Linked DNA regions of Homo sapiens: regions 1 and 3 are each linked to region 2. The links are contacts of gene promoters, found by promoter capture Hi-C in human tissues and cell types (Jung and others, 2019). All regions are on one chromosome and are shown on one strand. Each heading gives the region's core, a stretch centred on a gene start or on the middle of the fragment in contact. The rest is flanking DNA. Distances are from core to core; before and after follow the strand shown. Region 1 overlaps DAZAP1 (DAZ associated protein 1). Region 2 holds the start of EFNA2 (ephrin A2). Region 3 holds the start of POLR2E (RNA polymerase II, I and III subunit E).

Evidence for each region. The method cuts DNA at HindIII sites, captures the fragments that hold promoters and counts their contacts. A contact is called where the count stands out against the background at its distance.
Region 1: a contact is called between a fragment that was not itself captured here and the fragment with the promoter of EFNA2 in region 2, in 3 of the 25 tissues and cell types used here (dorsolateral prefrontal cortex, heart left ventricle and lymphoblastoid cells).
Region 3: a contact is called between the fragment with the promoter of POLR2E here and the fragment with the promoter of EFNA2 in region 2, in 2 of the 25 tissues and cell types used here (H1 embryonic stem cells and mesendoderm cells).

The regions. Positions count from the first base shown.
Region 1 is chr19:1,416,404-1,420,383 of GRCh38, forward strand. It overlaps DAZAP1 (DAZ associated protein 1), which reads left to right. Exons shown (of 12, transcript NM_018959.4): 2 at 1,097-1,137; 3 at 1,801-1,967; 4 at 2,263-2,328. Among named protein-coding and RNA genes, the nearest start is that of DAZAP1, 11 kb to the left of the region's middle. RefSeq lists enhancers at 1-124, 125-719. The HindIII fragment of the contact is 6,564 bases long and covers 1-3,980 here.
Region 2 is chr19:1,283,994-1,287,908 of GRCh38, forward strand. EFNA2 (ephrin A2) reads left to right here and starts at 1,880. Exons shown (of 4, transcript NM_001405.4): 1 at 1,880-2,315. The coding sequence starts at 2,176. RefSeq lists enhancers at 964-1,464, 1,465-1,965. The HindIII fragment of the contact is 32,397 bases long and covers 1-3,915 here.
Region 3 is chr19:1,094,125-1,098,033 of GRCh38, forward strand. POLR2E (RNA polymerase II, I and III subunit E) reads right to left here and starts at 1,251. Exons shown (of 8, transcript NM_002695.5): 1 at 1,135-1,251. The coding sequence starts at 1,191. RefSeq lists enhancers at 1-437, 1,195-1,284. The HindIII fragment of the contact is 36,385 bases long and covers 1-3,909 here.

The DNA.
Region 1 (3,980 bases), core at 694-3,193, 130 kb after region 2:
AGCTGAGATTCAGCTCAGGGACTTCATTTCTGAATGCGTGTCCTCTTTCCCAGGGAAAGCAGGCAGGATGGGAGAGTCGCCGATAGAACCACCTCTTCCCTGCCTCCTGGGCTTGGGGGAAGCTTGAATGACATCTAAGGCCCCGTGCCTGGGTAAGCCTTGTGGTGTCTCAGACATGCCCAGTGGGTGCCATGGCTGACTCAAGGTGGCACAGTCCCCATTGGGAGTTGGCACAGTCCCCATTGGGAGTTGGCACAGCCAAGGCCCTGGGGCCACCTGGAGCGGCAGTGAGGTGGAAAGGTGAGTGGGCCCTTGGGCGTCGCTGCAGGGTCGATGGCGGACGCCTTGGGAGAGCTCCAGCTCTTCTGCCCGGAGGAGACAGCCCCAGGACGGGGGTGGCGCGGGTCTTTGGTGGGGGCAGGCAGGAAGTGCCAGTGCTGAGACTGAATTTCAGGCCCTTCTCATCTGCCAATAAGAGACAGCCCCAGAATGGGGGTGGCGCGGGTTTGTCGGGGGTAAGTAAGTGGGGCCAGTGCTGAGACTGGAGCTTCAGGGCCTTCACCTTCATCTGTGGGCCTCTCGTTAGTTCGTGAGTGCAGGCTCATTGGGAGGCTTCTGTCTGTGTCCCCCCACCCCCGCCCCAGGCTGTAATTCAGAGGCCGTGTGGCATAGGCTTCTAGTTTACTGTGCATCATTTCAGATGTAGACTTCTACATTCTTTTTCCTGATTATAAAATACTCGCAAAAGCTGTAGGAAAGCGAGCCTGTGTCCCACTTGGCAGCAGTGCAGGTGAGCGTGGTGCCGTCACCACTGGCCTGTCCCAGGAACTCATCGCCCGCCACGCATGAGGTCAGCGTGCGGCTCTGTGGCACGGTCCTCTCCCCATGGCAAGGATTGGGATCATCTTTCATGTCTGCAGACAGCATGGGCGAGGCTGACTCGCCATTGCTGTGAGCTTTGTATGCCGTCACGTGCACAAGGACGTTTGCGTCAGCTGCTTCTGTGGTTTGAATTAAGACCTCAGCTTGGCTTGGATGGGGGCATTTCTAAGGCGAGCGCTGTCTTGATCCTGAATGTTTTCTCATTGAATCGCAGGAAGCTCTTCGTGGGCGGTCTTGACTGGAGCACGACCCAAGGTAGGTGGGGAAGGGGTGTCAGGTGGGTACTGCAGATGGGCTCTAGGACCTCGGCCTTCAAGTTGTGTCTGCCCGCCTCTTGCTACTGTCTTGGATATTTTAAAGTCCTTTTGACGTTGTTCTGATTTCTGGGCAGGGGACAGAGTAAGTGTGTATTTGCTCTGAGACTGTTAATTTGGTATTTCCATCCCAAGTTACAGGGAAGACCTCAGGCTGCAGGTTCCTAGCTCCGGGCTGAGGTGGCTTGTGGAGGCAGACAGCTGTTGTCTGGAAGTGCAGAGGGCTGGGGGCTGGCCAGGCTGTTACTGAGTTCAGAATAGGAGGAAAGAGTGTGTAGCAAAGTCGGCGCTCCTTGGCCACTGCCAGCATTCAGAGTTGTCTTGTTTGCCTTGCCTTAAACGTTGCCTTCCTGGACGCCTACAAAGTCAGGTTGTAACCGCTGGCCACTGCTGTGCTCACTGGCAGCCCCTGATTTACGTGAGGACCTCAAGTGTGTGTTGGGCAGAATTCCCCAGCGCTTCCCGTACACCCCCCACCCCCAGTGCAGCATCGCTCGGTGCGTGGCTGGTGGACTGGAGGAGTGTGCGTGCCGGCAGCACTGCCAGGCACGTGCCTAATGCTCTGGCCCTGTGTGTTTGTGTTTTCTTCCCGATTTCTGAGCAGAGACTCTGCGCAGCTACTTTTCCCAATATGGAGAAGTCGTAGATTGTGTTATCATGAAAGATAAAACCACCAACCAGTCTCGAGGCTTTGGGTTTGTCAAATTTAAAGACCCAAACTGTGTGGGGACGGTGCTGGCCAGCAGACCGCACACGCTAGATGGCCGAAACGTAAGTGCCCTTCCGGGAGCTCACACCCGCTCTCTGTCTCCCCTGTCCTTCCTCTGCTTCATTTTTTCCTGGACTCTGACCGATGTTTGCGTTAGAGTATGTTTGAACGTGGGGTCGATTGGGAAGGATTAAGCCTTGGTGCTGAGGCTGGATATTGCAGGAGGATACAGGGTGAATGGAGCCGGCGGGGCGGGGCGGGCCGGGCTGCTGTGCCGTGGCTGCTGTTGTGCTGACACCCTCTTTCCTAGAGAAACAGCCTCTTATTCACAACCAGCTGATTTGAAATTTCCTGCAGATCGACCCCAAGCCATGCACACCCCGGGGGATGCAGCCGGAGAGAACACGGCCGAAGGAAGGATGGGTAAGGGGCTGGGCCGGGCGGCCTCCTTGTGTGTTCTCCACTCCACGTGGAAAGGAAATGCGTGCCTTCAATCTGCTGTTGTCGCTCGTTAAGATTGAGGGCGACGCAGGTCTTCTGGGTTGGCACTCGAGCAGCTGAGGATCACCCAGATTTATCAGTGCCGTGAGTGTTTTACAGCCAAGAAAATTCTTACTAATCTATCTTAGGGAAAAAAAAAATGACAGCTCATGCCACTGATTATCAGGAGCCAGTCAGCTTCCCTCTGTGCCCTGTGTGCCCTCTGTGCCGGGCCTGCCCCCTCCCACTGCCTGGCCCTCCTCAGAGGTGGGCCATCCTTCCACTGCCGGGGCTGGGCCGGGCTGTGTCAGCTCGTGCTGGCCACTTTACTGCTCCACTTGAGATCCCCTGACGTGGCAACTTGGGTTCTCTGACCTGCGCCCTGGTGCTTGCCTGGCCGACAGGGCACTGTCCTGGCATGGGGTCTCCTTGGCATTTGGGTCTCACCACCACCCACACCTCACCTTCCTCCAGCCCTGCAGTTCTCACACCGGCACCAGGAGCCTGGTGGGGCGGTGCAGATGGGAAAGCTCTTAGCCCCATAGAACGTGCTGGACAGTGCAGACCTGGAGGCCTGCTGAGGCACCGGGTGCCAGCCTCTCCACAGTGTGGGCAGCAGGGTGGGGTCTATATGTATTTACATCCATCTCTGTCCACATACACCATTCCTAAGGACCGGAGGGTGCGTCTCCTAAAATGACGGCCACCCCTCGCATGCACCCACCGTCAGCACGCTGGAAAGCGGCTGCAGGGAATCCCGTGTCATCTGTGTCCAGGCCGTGTTCCCAGCTCCAGAATTGTTTCACAAGTGTCTCTCATAGCTGGTTTTTTTCAGACTGGAATCCAAGGTTCATATTCCATCTGGTTATTAATGTCTCTCTAGCTTTTCTTAAGATATAATGGGCACGTAGTAAACTGCACCACTTGATGATTCTGACCCATACAAACACTCATGAAACCATCCCGACCGTCACGGCAGCGAGCACTCACCCCACGCACACACTCATGAAACCATCCCAACCGTCACGGCAGCGAGCACTCACCCCACGCACACACTCGTGAAACCATCCCGACCGTCACGGCAGCGAGCACTCACCCCACGCACACACTCATGAAACCATCCCGATCGTCAACGGCAGCGAGCACTCACCCCACGCGCACACTCATGAAACCATCCCTACAGTCACGGCGGCGAGCACTCACCCCACGCGCACACTCATGAAACCATCCCTACAGTCACGGCGGCGAGCACTCACCCCACGCGCACACTCATGAAACCATCCCTACAGTCACGGCAGCGAGCACTCACCCCACGCGCACACTCATGAAACCATCCCGAACGTCACGGCGGCGAGCACTCACCCCACGCGCACACTCATGAAACCACCCCGAACGTCACGGCGGCGAGCACTCACCCCACGCGCACACTCATGAAACCACCCCGAACGTCACGGCGGCGAGCACTCACCCCACGCGCACACTCATGAAACCACCCCGAACGTCACGGCGGCGAGCACTCACCCCACGCGCACACTCATGAAACCACCCCGAACGTCACGGCGGCGAGCACTCACCCCACGCGCACACTCATGAAA
Region 2 (3,915 bases), core at 630-3,129:
GGGTAGAAGGAAGCTTCCAGAACTCCCACCTTTGCCAGGTGGCATGCTGGGGCCGGGCACGCCAAGACCCCAGGCTCACGGCCCCTTGTCCTGTGCTTGGGTGCAGCCGCCACACTCTGCTCCGAAAGTGCTCACCTCCGGGAGTGGCCGTCCCCCTCCCTAAAAGAGCCCCCCACCAGACGGAGCCGCCCGGGAAGCTTCTCCAGCCTGTCTGGGCTACAGAGCCTTGTGTGGCTAGAACCCAAGGCCCTCACTCCAGGGGTGCTGAGAGAGCCTGTCCAGAGGGCCTGCCTCAGCCACCACCTGGGACAGGTTCACGCCCTCCACTGAAGAGACACCCGGCCAGCCCTGGGCCTTCGACCTGGGACGTCTGTAGTGGGGTCAGGGGATGAGACCTGGAGCTCAGAACAGACGGGCTGAGCTCCCTGGAGGAGAGAGAACTGAGAACCTTGTCCTGGCAGGGACGCTAGAGCACTGGGTGGGACAGACCTTTCTGGAAGAGCAAGATTTTAACAGGAAGAAAAAGTGGAAGGACTTCCCAGCAGGACCCAGCCTGAACAAAGGTCAGGTGGTGTGGCCCGCGTGGCCCGCTGGGGAATCGGGGGAGGAGGGCACGCAGGAGACACAGGACAGAGCCCACCACGTCTCAGAGCTGTGGGACGGTGGTGGGTCCGGTCCCCACCCCACCTTGCTGGGGCACAGGTTAGCTTGCCCATCTCTGGGTTCACGGTCCCTGCCAGGAGTTTGGGTAATGCCTCACACAGGGACCTTCGGGTCCAAGGGCTGTTGGTGCTTGCCCTGCAGTTCCCTCTCCTGCACTGGGCCTGGTGAATGACACTAATTCAGAGACGTACAACACGATCTGGGCATCGCCAGCAAAGTCCAGCCAGCGTTTGATGACAGCCTACCCTCCACAAGCTCAGAGTCTGGTGAGGGAGGCTGTGGCATGAATAAGGGCAAAAACAGAGGGCAGGCCAGGTGCAGTGGCTCACGCCTGTAATCCTAGCACTTTGGGAAGCCCAGGTGGGAAGATCGCCTGAGCCCAGGAGTTCAAGACCAGCGTGGCCAACATGGCCAGACACTGTCTCTATAGATTGGAAAAAAGACAAAGCAGAGGCCAGGCCCCCAGTTCCCCACCTGTGTCAGCCTACCAGGAGGAGAAATCACTCGGCGTTCCCTGAACAGATCAGACCCCGGGTCTTTGCACAAGCTGTGCCCCCGGGCAGCGGCCCTCCCCTGCCTGCAGGATTCGTGCGTGGAGACTGATTTGCTGTCGGCCGGGGCTTCACTCTGGGCTTCTTGGATCCCATCCCCAGCTGCTCACACTCCACATCGGTCCACCTACTATGCTCCCGGCACCCTTAGGGCTGAGGTGTAGGGACTTACTCCATCCCCAGGGAACAGCGTGGGTCCGGAGAGGCGACTCCCAGGAGGGCCCCAGGGAGGTCGCAGCCCGAGCAGCTTTGGACTTTGGCCAGCGCCCCTCTGAAACTCTGCCCCGGCCCCCGCAGGGAGACTGGAGTTGGCCGAGCCCGATTTGGGACGCGTGCGTCGGGGTTGGTGAGGCTGCGGATAGCGCTGGAACCGGGCAGGTGAGAGGCCCGGGACCCAGGGCCGGGCCGGGTGGAGCGCGTGGGGGCGCGGGAGGCAGGGTGCGCCCCCGCCCCTCGGAGACCCCAGGCCGGGCCACGCGGATGCCGGCGGGGGGCGCGCAGAATCGGGGTCGCTGGGGGCAGGCCCCGGGGGACGAGCCTGAGACGGGGTGGGCCGGGGCAGGGGGCGGGCGCAGGCTGGAGACCCCCGCCCAGTCCCCGCGCGGCCGGGGCACGGCGGGAGGGGGCGCCCGCGGCCCTCCCGACGCTCGGGCGGGACAAAGGCCGGAGCCCGGGCCCCTCCCCGGCGGGTGCGGCGGCGGCGGCCCGCGCTCCGACAGTCCGCGCGGCCGGGTCCTGCGCCCGGGGCGACCCCGGCGCCCCGCCCCGCCGCCGCCTGACTTCTCGGCGCCCGAGGTCGCGCGCGCGGAGGCGGGGGCGGCCCGGGATCTCCAAGCGCCGCCGCGCCCTCCTCCCGCCCGCCCTCCGCCCGCCCGCTCGGCGGCGGCGGCGGCGGCGGAGGAGGCGGAGAAGGCTGGCAGGCGGCGGCCGGGAGAGCGAGCGCGGCGGCCGGACCGGGGCCATGGCGCCCGCGCAGCGCCCGCTGCTCCCGCTGCTGCTCCTGCTGTTACCGCTGCCGCCGCCGCCCTTCGCGCGCGCCGAGGACGCCGCCCGCGCCAACTCGGACCGCTACGCCGTCTACTGGAACCGCAGCAACCCCAGGTGAGCGCGGCCGCGCGCGGGGGGCGCCCGGGGACCCCCCAACGCCCCCCAAGCCGCGCCCGGCCTCGCGCCCCCGGAGCTCCGGGCGCCCCCCACGCGCGCGCCGCCGCCGGGATGCGGGCGCCCGGTTCCCGCGGGAGCCCCCCAGGGAGCTCCGGCCCCCCGGAGTTTGGGGGACTCGCCCTTTTCGCGCCTGCCTTCCCCGGGGCGCCCCATTGCCCTACGGACTGTGGGGACTCGCGCCCCACATCCCCCAGAGCGCCGACGTCTCCTGGAGTTTGGGGAACCCCTCTGGTACCCTCCGATGCCGGGTAGCCCCTGAGTTGCCTGCCTGGACTTGGGGGGACCCCTGATCCACCCGCTTCTCTGGGGAGCCCCCTCGGTTTCGCATTTGGTGGGGATCCCCGGGGACCTTGGCACCGGAGGTGGGGGACTGTGGCCCTCGAGGGATCTCTGGGTTCGTCCTGCCCGCAGGTCCCCAGATGAACTTGGGGAAGTTGGAGTGTCCCTCCCTCAGGACCCAGCATCTGCTTCACTCCAGGGGGCCAAGGGCCCAGCTTTGAAAGGAGACTGAGGGGCCGGGGAGCTGGGGGTCAGCCCCGGGAGGGGCAGTGGGATGGAGTCCTCTCTTGTCCTCTGGGCGCTGACCAGGAAACTGAGGTGCAGAGGGGATGAGGAGCTGGCTCAAGGTCATGCAAGGGGGGGACTTGGGGGCAGGACCCAGGTGGCCCAGTGCCCTGCCTGCCACGCCCGGCCGAGATGCCGCACCCGCCTGCTGCAGGCCCCCTTGTTTTGAACCAGGTCCGGGCCAGGCACAACGTGGGGGACAGGAGAAGCCCCCGTTGGTCAGAGCAAAAAAAGTTTGCCGGGGCCTGGCCATGGCCTGGACGTGGGTAGAACCCTCTGAACCATCCCAGGGTCTCCAAGACAGGAGCAGGCTGCAGCTTCCCTGGGGGTCCCGTGGGAGCCGGGGCTTTGGGGGTCCTGGGGCTCGGGAGGGAGTCAGCCCCAGCACTCAGGGTGTCACCGTCTTCCTAAGGCACACGGAGCTGCACATCGGGGGCTGAGGCGGCCCCCCCCCACTCTTCTGCTACTGGTCACTTTCTCTCCGTTTTCCAGCCGCTTCCTGTGCCGACCGAGCCGCCCTCTGGAGCCCGCCACCCCTCCTTGTCCCCTCTGTCTCCTGCTGTCCTCGGTCCCCGGGAGGAAAGTTGCATGAAGGGGTCTCTTTGAGGCGGGCTCGGGGACAAGGGCGGCCCGTGTTCCGCCGTGGGGGTGGGGAACACGCACAGGCCCACCCCCCACCCTGGTCAACGGCCTCGGGTCGGGCCCTGGGGGCTGAGGGCAGGGACCCCGGGCCGCTGGGGGACGGCTGGCCCACCTCAGAGCGGGTCCCCGAGCCGCCCGCTGTGCTGGTCACATGTGGGTTTGATTAAGGCTGTCGCTGGCCGTGCGGGGAGTCCAGCGGGCAGCGCTTCCCCGGCCCAAGTTTTTGGTTTCAGCTGCGGAATCTCCCGTCCCCAGCGTGGCCTGTCCTTTGTTCTAGCAAACGCCAAACACACGAGGACCCGGCAACCGGGGGAGGAAGGTGGTCACCAGG
Region 3 (3,909 bases), core at 1-2,500, 190 kb before region 2:
CGGCCAAAGCTCGTGACCCGGAAGTCAGACCTGCGGCTGCTGCAGAGGACAGAGGTGAACAGCAAACGGGATGAACACTCACTGTGTGCTCCATGACAGCCACCCCGGCCCCCACAGCCTCACACCACAGGATGGGACCAGTATGATCCTGAGAGGCTCCCAGAGATGTCCAGCCTTGACCAAGACCGTCTGTCCACCCAGCCTCACAGAAACCTGGCAGGGAGCAAAGCCCTCCAAACCACTTTGCAGAGCTACCCTAAAGGCAGGGACAAAGGCGGGGCGCGGAGGCTCACGCCCGTGATCCCAGTACTTAGGGAGGCTGAGGCAGGAGGGTTGCTGGAGGCCAGTTCAAGGATGCAGTGAGCTATGATTGCACCACTGCACTGCAGCCTGGGCGACAGAATGAAACCCTATCTCTTAAAAAAAAAAAATGACAGGGACCGAAACAGATGTGACTTCAGGCTGACAATGTTTGAGGATCGGAGAAAGAAGAATCAGGCTGCGGGGGGCTTCGCTGAGGACAAGGGCAAAGGGTGGGAAGCAAGACAAAGCAAAAGCTCTCAAACGGCCCCAATGGCTGAGGCAATACCCTGAACCGCAGGTCCTCAGGCCTGTGCCCGGCTTCCAAACCGGACTCGACCCAGTGGCCTCCATCTGCCCCAGACCCCAAGGCACGGGTTCCGAGCTCCACGTCCCCATCGAAAGCCCCAGCTCGCCCGCTGCTTCCCAACCACCAACTCTGCCAGCCTCGGATGCTGAAGACTCCATGGGGTTCAGGACGCAAGGACAAATAGCGACGCTGAATCACAGAGAAGGGCAGAGTCTGGGGGCGCCCCCCGTCCCCATTCGCGGCTTCCTCCTCCTCTCGCCGCCACGCGCGCCGCACCAGCCCAAGCCGCCCACCCACCCCTAAGCACCGCACCCAGACGTCTCGAAACCCCCTCCCTTCCCCGCTGCCGGCTCAGGTCGGGTCCAGCGCCTGGTATCCCCGGCGACCTCTGGGCCTCCCGTATCGGCCCGGCCCTTCATCGCTGCTGCTCCGACGAGAGTACGAGGAGACGCCGTGCTCGACCCCACCTCGGGCCCCTACACCCGCCGCCCGCGCCCCCGCCCCCAACACCAGGCGCGGCTCACCTGCATGATGGTCTTGCGGATTTTCCAGAGCCGGTACGTCTCCTCCTCGTCGTCCATGGCAGCCTCCGCCGCCGCCGCCGCTCGCACCCCTTCTCCGCGCGAGAACCCGCGCGGACTGCGCCTGCGCCGAATCCGAATCAGGCCCCCTCCGCCTAACCCCGCCCCGCGCTGGTCTGTCGTCGGCGAATGCCTGAATGCAGCAACGTCTCGGATCGGCAGCGCCAAGGGCAGCCCGAGCCTTACGAGAGCGGCAGTTGGCTGAGCGAGTCTCTCGCCTCCGTAGTTCTCGTGTGTCTTTGGCCGCACAGCCTCTCGGGAGTTGTAGTTTCCGTTCAACTCCCACCTTGGAGCAACAGTTTAGAATCCCACGAGGCGGGGGCGAAGTGTGAGCGGGGAAACTGAGGCCTGGATGGGGTCAAGGGGCAGCTCGGCTCCTAGGGATGGTCTGGGAGCCTAGTGGGAACTCTATAAATATTTGTGCATCAAACTGTACAGGGTTTCCTCCATTGGCTCCTGGCCAGGTCAGGGTTAATTCCCTTGGGCCTCAGTTTCCCTACCTGTGCAATGGCAATAAAGTGTCCCTACTTTAGACGGTTAACTGAGAGTCTTAGGCATCTCTCTAGGTGCTTATTAAGTCCCCTCACCTCTGTCCTCTCCCCTGAGCGCCACCAGCCTAGCCTGGGTATCTCCCCAGCCTAGCCTGGGTATCTCCCCACCCCAGACTCTTCCTGTCTTTGCAAACCTCCTCACTTCCCCAGGTTCACGGAGAACCCCAGCCCAACACTTCCTGTGTGCAGGCTATCAGTAACTTATTCAGTGATGCATTCGTTAATTCAACATTTACTCAGCAACCTACAGTGATGGTGAATAAAACAGGCCAAGTATCCCTTGCATTCAGATAAAGACAGGATTTAGTAAAATATAATAAATAACGTGGCCGGGCGCGGTGGCTCATGCCTATAATCCCAGCACTTTGGGAGGCTGAGGCGGGCAGAGCATGAGATCAGGAGTTCAAGACCATCCTGGCTAACACGGTGAAACCCCGTCTCTACTAAAAATACAAAAAATTAGCTGGGCCAGGTGGCAGGTGCCTGTAGTCTCAGCTACTTAGGAGGCTAAGGCAGGAGAATCTCGTGAACCTGTAAGGTGGAGGTTTCAGTGAGCCAAGATCGTGCCACTGCACTCCAGCCTGGACAACAGAGCAAGACTCTGTCTCAAAAATAAAATGAAATGAAATAAAATAAAATAAATAACAACGTTAGAAAGTGACAAAGCTACGGAAGAAGAAAGAGCAGGGAGGCTAAGTGACATGGGGAGAATGGGAGAACTGCAGTATCACATGGGGAGGTCAGGGAATACAGTGAGGATAGATTCAAGCAAAAATCCCATTAGCAGTGGTGGCTCATCACTGTAATCCCAGCACTTTGGGTGGCCGAGGCAGGCAGAGCATGAGATCAGGAGTTCCAGACCAGCTTGGCCAACATGGTGAAACCCTGTCTCTACTAAAAATACAAAAATTAGCCAGGTTTGGTGGTGGGTGCCTGTACTCCCAGTTACTCGGGAGGCTGAGGCAGGAGAATCACTTGAACCCGGGAGGCGGAGGTTGCAGTGAGCCGAGATCGCACCACTGCACTCCAGCCTGGGTGACAGAGCAAGACTCCATCGAGAAAAAAAAAAAAAAATCCCATTGGGCGCGATAGCTCACACCTGTAATCCCAGCACTTTGGGAAGCTGAGAGGGGAGGATCCCTTTGTTGTAGTTTTGTAATTTTTAGTTGTAAGTCACGGACTTTTTTACACTGATATTTGAGATTCTTTTTGGGGGGCTGTCAGGGGCTACTTTTTTTTTTTTTCCTGACACGGAATCTCGCTCTGTCCCCCAGGCTGGAGTGCAGTGGCAGGATCTCGGCTCACTGCAAGCTCCACCTCCCGGGTTCACGCCATTCTTCTGCCTCAGCCTCCCGAGTAGCTGGGACTACAGGCACCTGCCACCACGCCCGGCTAATTTTTTGTATTTTTAGTAGAGACGGGGTTTCACCGTGTTAGCCAGGATGGTCTCCATCTCCTGCCCTCATGATCCGCCCGCCTCGGCCTCCCAAAGTGCTGGGATTACAGGTGTGAGCCACCCCGCCCGGTCTGTGCAGGCTTTCTTATCTAACTACCTAACTTTTCTTTCTCACCTTGAGGCCAGGAGTTTGAGACAAGCCTAGGCAACATAGGAAGACCCCATTTCTTTTTTGTTGTTGTTGTTGTTTTTTGAGACCGAGTCTCGCTCTGTTGCCCAGGCTGGAGTACAGTGGCATAATCTCAGCTCACTGCAGCCTCCGCCTCCTGGGTTTAAAGGATTCTCCTGCCTTGGCCTCCCGAGTAGCTGGGATTACAGGCGTGAGCCACCACACCTGGCTAATTTTTTTGTATTTTTGGTAGAGATGGGGTTTCACCATGTTAGCCAGGCTGGTCTTGAACTTCTGACCTCAGATCATCTGCTTGCCTCGGCCTTCCGAAGTGCTGAGATTACAGGCGTGAGCCACCGCACCCGGCCAGGAAGACCCCATTTCTACAAAAAAATTTAAAAATTAGCTGGGCGTGGTGGGCGCACCTGTAGTCCCAGTTACTCGGGAGGCTGAGGTGGGAAGATCTAGGATCGCCTGAGCCCAGCGGTTGAGGCTGCAGTGAGCTGTGATTGCGCCACTGCACTCTAGCCTGGGCGACAGAGCAAGACACTGTCTCCAAACAAACAGAAAACAAACAAAAACCAGAAGAGGAGAGGGAGGAA